Regions from separate parts of the Homo sapiens genome. Here region 1 is linked to region 2. Evidence: promoter capture Hi-C in human tissues and cell types (Jung and others, 2019). All regions are on one chromosome and are shown on one strand. Each heading gives the region's core, a stretch centred on a gene start or on the middle of the fragment in contact. The rest is flanking DNA. Distances are from core to core; before and after follow the strand shown.

The links. Contacts are between HindIII fragments. The study calls those that stand out against the background at their distance.
Region 1: a contact is called between a fragment that was not itself captured here and the fragment with the promoter of TMPRSS7 in region 2, in 1 of the 25 tissues and cell types used here (aorta).

Annotation. Positions count from the first base shown.
Region 1 is chr3:111,737,726-111,741,151 of GRCh38, forward strand. It overlaps a transcript of PHLDB2 not described here. Among named protein-coding and RNA genes, the nearest start is that of PLCXD2-AS1, 62 kb to the left of the region's middle. The HindIII fragment of the contact is 3,475 bases long and covers 403-3,426 here.
Region 2 is chr3:112,033,237-112,036,464 of GRCh38, forward strand. It overlaps TMPRSS7 (transmembrane serine protease 7), which reads left to right and starts at 1,500. Exons shown (of 18, transcript NM_001395507.1): 1 at 1,500-1,657. The coding sequence starts at 1,610. The HindIII fragment of the contact is 15,104 bases long and covers 1-3,228 here.

The sequences.
Region 1 (3,426 bases), core at 890-3,389, 290 kb before region 2:
TTCCTGCAGAGAACTCTAACTAGGCAGAATTCTTTTTTGTCATCACTGGGTTGATGTTTTCAAGGATTCATTTCTCAAGATAAGCCTTATATAGTGCATTTGGCTGGAGCTCATGTGTACTTCTGTGGAATGATGGCTTTCGTCCATGGGGCCTACTTTGTGGTGATCTCATTAGGTTTCACAAGGTAAACAGCTGAAAACTTGTGGTTAGTATGTGAGCAGGCTTCAAGAGAAGAGAAAACCCAGGAGAGGTCGGCCAGAAGATGTTGCAGTGAATTGGCAGGTGGCAGGCTTCTCTCTGTGACCCAAGGAAAGCCAATACCCCTACGAATTCCAAGGAGATGTACTTTTAATTTCAAATACATGTATCCCACAAAATTTAGCTCTGCTTCCTAGCTAGGAATCCTAATCATAGGAAGAGCTAATGGCTAGACTTCCCAGAACGTGACTGTTCTCTACTCAAATTCATCTCATTTTGCTTTTCTTTGCAAAATGAAAATTCTCCATTTTCCATAAGAATAGTATTGTTATAGAATACAGTTGTGTTGATAAATTATAGTCCAACAAATTAAACTAAAATAGCCCAACAGAGGCATCCTAGGCCTGACATCATTGTTGTCTTTCTCTGTGGCTTTATGCCAATTTTTACACATCTTGGGGATGGCTTAGTTTCACATCTTTACTCATCTGCGTTCTAATTTTGGATAACCACAAACATTTATTGATGGGTTATCCACTCAGTTCAGCAACAATCATCTACTCTTTCCCAGAAGTGTGTTAGACACTGTCTTTGACATAGGATTAAATAATCTTGCCACTTACCAGAGATGAGAAGGTTTTAAATTTATCCAGTAGGCCAAACCACAGCTTCTTTAGAGTCCTCTATATTTGTGTGTATGTTAGTGTGTGTGTATGTGTGTGTCTGCCTGTGTGTATGTATCTGTGTGTGTATGTGTACTTTTAATCATTATACAGTACCAAGAAGATAATGGGTTCTCAGTAAATATTTGTTGGTGATACTAAACTAGTAATCAGCTAGGAATTTAATCAAGAAATTGATTTATAAAAAGAAAACTGGAATTGCTAGGGGAGACTAAAGAAAGAATCAGAAGTGTTAACCATTGGTGTAGAGGGAATAGGGCATCAAGGGTCTACTTGCTCTTCTGCCAACCCCCAACTGAATGGTACAGCACATAGGAGACCTCGGTTGTGTTTGATTCTGCTACTACACACACCAACAGGGCAACTCTGGGCAAGTCACTTCGGCTTTCGTGGCCTCAATTTTCTCATTTTCAAAATGGAGGCAGGGGATTGAGAGTATAACATCTCTAATGTCTTCTCTAGTTTTGATATTCTGTGTTCTATGAAAAACTAGAAAAGTTTACTTCAGAAAGTTCTTTACGGAAAATACAGAAATAATTTTAATTTATCTAGGGAGATCATTCCTATCTCTTGGGTAAATAAGGGGAATGAAAAAGCTGCTCAAGAGATCCCAGCTATGCCACCTTGAAGATGTTATAAATTGGTGAGTCTGGGCATTGATCTTTACTAGAGAAGAAGCCCACTTGGCTGGGAGAGTAAAGAAACCACATCTGAATTCTCTTGTCCAGCACTCAGCTTTGCCACGCCTGTGTGCCACTAATGCAAGCTCCAGCAGGCAGTCAGTCATGACTATCATTCTCTCTTTATAAATAAACGGAAGCCCTTAAAGGTGACGTGACTTGCCCAAGGTTACAGAAACATGGCAGTGAGTCAGATGGAACTGTGTGTGTTTGGAGGAGGAGGAGAAGATGACATTATAAACAAAAGGCAGAGAGTGAGGGACAGATCCACACCTCTTCTGAAGTTAAAAAAAAAAAAAACAAAACAAACAAAAAAAAAAAACAATGGTCACAGGCTACAGAAAAGCTTTGAGTCTGCTCTGAATCCTGAGATCACCCCTGTCTCCCTGCCTCTCCCTGAGCCACCCCAGGCACCCTGCCCAGGTTTACTCACCCAGGTTGTTGCTAACTGGGTGCCTGTGCTCGTGTCCCTTCTTGTAAGCTTCATAAAAGGCTATTTGTAATGAAGAGAGGGCATATCAAAGAAGGGAGACTGCATCCTCCAGGCCCCGAACCAAAAAGGCAGGTTTTTTTTTAAGAGGAAGTCTGGTTTCCCTATTAAAATCTGCAGAAATGAATGGTCCTCAAGATGACTAGCAGAATTATGACATTCTATTTCAAGCATTTTTAAAATTTTTTTTTACCTGAGGTTATTTTACTTCTGTTTGCTCTCCTTCTCCACATAAAAAGGAAAGAATAATGCTTGCTCACTATGATACTGTATGAGAGAAGGCAGCCCGGGCAGTACAACTCAAAGGAACCTACTAATTGCACCAAACAGCAAGGCACAGCTAGACATTTCAGTAAATAAAGTGTGATATCATCATGGCTCACACGGGTTTACCTTATCACCCAGACCCATGCCTAGGGAGTGCTAAGACCCTGAAGAACCACAATCACAAGTGATGGCAAAGAACCTCTGGTCCAAGAAGAAAAACGCTGAAAGAAATTGGACATCAATGATCTTATGTCTCAGTTGCATTTAGAGGCTGCATCACTTTGCTGCCTATTATTGTCCTCATTAAATATGAGAGAGAGAGAGAGAGAGAGAATTAATTAACTATCATCACCAGGGGATATCTGGTAATTTTCGAGGTACATGAAGTGGGCAGACGATGCCATAAATTCAGTAAGAACACACTGATTTCTTGGCGGAGTCTTCAAGTGACTTTCTGCTTTACTCCACAAAAATCTTACTGAGTATACCCACTTCTCTGTTTCTACTCTATTCCTAATATCTAACTAACTTCTTCTTAGGTAGTCTCTTGGGAAGAAGGATAGATAACACGTAACACAATATATAATGCTTAGTTGACTGTCACAACCGTATTAACTACACTCACTTTTTAGAAGCCACAAAACTAACAATCACCAAAAGTCACCCTTGGCTTGCCCCCCCACCAAATACATTCACTTAAGGTAGGCTAGGAAGAGGACAGGCTTATGATTCAACCATATAGTATCTCTTAACAAAGTCAGAGAATCAGAACAGCCCATGAGTCCAACAATGATTATCAATGTCAAACTTAACTCAAATACAGACCTCAATGCCTCATTTCATGCCCATCAAGTTAAAAAAAAAAAAAAAGAAACAGTGGGGAGAGGAGAGGGGGGAGAAAAGCTAAAAACAAAGAAATATGAACAATGATGACAAGGTGCTGAAACATGGAGACAATCTCACATAGTCCTAATGCTAACCACCAAGTACCAGCTGGCACCTTTACAAGTTCTCCAATCAGTGAGCACCATTGCTTCTTGAATTGAACTGAATTCCTATTATTGGACTGGATTCTCTAGCACTGCCAGCTTTCTAGCAGGAGAAAAA
Region 2 (3,228 bases), core at 250-2,749:
CTGAACTCAGTTCCAAATACAGCAAAGAAAGCTGGGGATTAGTAGTCAATGAAGAGAGTGAGGGGGTCCATGGTTGGAAAATTACTAAGGGGAAACACCAAGGGGCATCCTTGCTAAACTGACCAATCAGGATTCTTGTTACAGGCAGCCAAGGACTTACATATCAAGGGTAGGGGATAAAGAACTTGATCAGATATCAAGGGTATTTCAAGGCCACTCTTGAATCAAAAAAAAAAAAAAAAAAAAAAAGAAAGAAAGAAAGAAAGAAAAGAAAAAGAAAGCAAAATCAAGGGTGATCAGATATCAAGGCGGGGGGATTCCTGCTAAACTGACCAGATGGGCCAAAGACAAGGCCCAAGGACAAGGTCTAGTTGAAAAGAGAGCTCAGAGTAACCTGACAACACTTTGGTCAAGAAGAGAGTCTTTGTCAATGGCCACCGATAAGTATACAAATTTTACTTATATTGGTGAAATATGAGTTAGTTCTAGAAATAGGTAGAGAAATAATACTGGAAAGATGAGCCATTAAAAGTAATATTATAAAGTCTAAACCATTATTAATAATTTCATCAATGTGAATAATAAATAACAAAACCCAAGAGGCGAATTTGTACATGACTTAATTCTTTTTTTTTTTTTTTTTTTTTTTTTGTTATTCTGTCTCATCTTCCCCAAGTTAGATCAAATTTCAGGTATGAAGCAACTCAACTAATCTTTCCCCACTTTCAGCAGGCAGTTTCTCACTTGCCATATGCACAGCCCGTGAATGATGCTGAAGTTTGTGTCTGGATCAGCAGAACAGTGTTTCTCCTTTAAAGCGTGACAGATCAGCTTTCTGTTGACACCCAGTGCCCACAGGGTGATGAGGTTCCAGCAATCCCTGCCTTTTTCTCCCCGTCTGCTAAGAGAAATTCTGACACTGCCCCTCAGGATTGGATTATTCTTCCCACCATGGATCTAATTCAGATTGACATTGGGAAGTATGGGAGAGATGGAAACAGGGGCTTTACAGCAGAAAGGGCCCCAGGTTTACTGAGGACTGACTGCAAGAAGTAGGGGGAGCTAAATGGAAAAAAGTCCCTTTGGATTATGAGTTCTCAGAGAGTATGGCTGGAGAGTTGAGAGCAGGACTGAAGAGTGAGTCTCCTGGAGCAGGCAAGAGATGCCACGCAAGAGAAATGAGGTGTGAGGACTTCTCAGATGTGGTGCTGAGGGTTGTAAATTAGACCTCTTCATATTCTTTAGGAGATGCAAGAAAAAAATTATAATGATTTTTAAATGTTACTGGATTGTAGGATTGTGTTTCTTATAAGAAAACCTTGCCTTGAGGCTGGCTGTACTCTGAGAGGCCTGACTCCTATGAAAGTTACATTGAGAATCCTTGAGTTTGGGGTGCAAAGCTGAGTGCTAGGTCCCTTTAACATTTACAATATAGCAATGAGGCGGCTTCAGTTTCTGAACTGAACCCGGTGGAGGTAAATTGATTCCACTCCTCTGAAAGCTAGCTTGAATGCGGTGACGGTTCTCTCAATTCTTCTCAAGAGAGCATATAAGGGGCAAAAACTGGCTTTGAGACACCCCTGGATGATCACACACAAAACGCCTAATAATGGACAAAGAAAACAGCGATGTTTCAGCCGCACCTGCTGACCTGAAAGTAAGTACAGGGTGAGAAACTTTCTCTTACTTGAATGCCATTTATTGTTGACCCTGTTAGTAAAATGAGATTGTATGACCTTATAAACATAAAGGAAACAATAATAAAATATTTTATCTTCTTATGGTAATTAATGGGTTTTACAAATGTGAGCTTATTATAAAGTGCTGTACTTGGCAATTGATTTGTAGCCGTTTTTCTAAAACTCCAGGGAAATTGTACTGATCTCTACACAAATTCCATTTTAAAATTTAATCAGTGCTAACTGAGACTGCCTATAATGTGTTTCTGCACTTAAAAGATCCAAACTTGGCTTTGTCAGTTCAACATGTACTGGCATTTCTGCGTGTTTCTTTATTTCTTTTGGGGGAGCACTTGAAAGTAGCTTGATACCATCGACAACTCATTCTACAATGGAATGTTTCTCTCTTTAGAAACCCAGTCCTCATTCCTGCAGGACACCACATTAAATGATGTCTGGTCTAGTTCAATTTCACCAGAAAGGATACAAGCAACACTTCACTCCAGGGGTTGACAAGGTGTTTGGCAAAAAGAATGAAGGGGCCATGAATAATTCAGAGTGTACGTGGCCACGTATTATCCCATTAATTGGCAAGATTAAAGACTGGAGGGCATGAATTTTGAAGAGAAGAGTGAGGGAGAGGAAAAGAGAAGGAGAGAACTCTTAAGGACAGTGCAAAAGAGAGATTATTTCTTTGGCATTGGCATTCCATATTGTTGCCTTTAAAAGAATGTGTGGTTAAAAGCTATTTCGTCTCTGGAGTTTAGTTACCCTGACTTGTATAAATCTCTCCTTAAATGAAGCTAAACTCTTGAATACATTATTAAAGAATTCACAGCATCAAATAGCAGAGGGTAGACAAGAAAATAAAAGAGGAGGAAGGGAAACAATTAAATAATGTATTTTTTACTCTTGCACATAACACTATGCACATCAATACACTTAAACCAACAATTTTCTAATCTAATGAGTGTTCTATTTCATTCTTCCATTTACTTTTAAATAATTATTTCATTTATAATTGAGAAACTGTGGCTGGCAATGGCAGCGGCTGGCAATGGCAAAACAAACATATTTAATTCCTATAAACCCACAACCCTACAACCGTATGTAAACACACATGCTTTACGAACAATTTGTGCAGTTACAAATTGCACAAATTTGTACAATCTATGCAAATTATCATATCACCTTTACTTTTCCTTCCTACCACCCAGTCATGAAGCTGTAACTAGGAAATCAATTCATTTCTGTGGGGAACTCACTTATCTTCTTATTTTCAATCCTGCATCAGCCCAGAAATAATTGATTGTGAGAGAAAAACAATATAATACAAACATGTGAAACACACACATATACTAAAAGGACTGTGGACAGGCATAGTGGCTCACACCTGGAATCCCAGCACTTTGGGAGGCCAAGGTGGGTGGATCACCTGAGGTCAAGAGTTCAAGACCAACCTGACCAACATGGTGAAACCGCATCTCTACTACAAATACAGAATTAGCCAGGTGTGGTGGTGAGTGCCTGTAATCCCAGCTACTTGGGA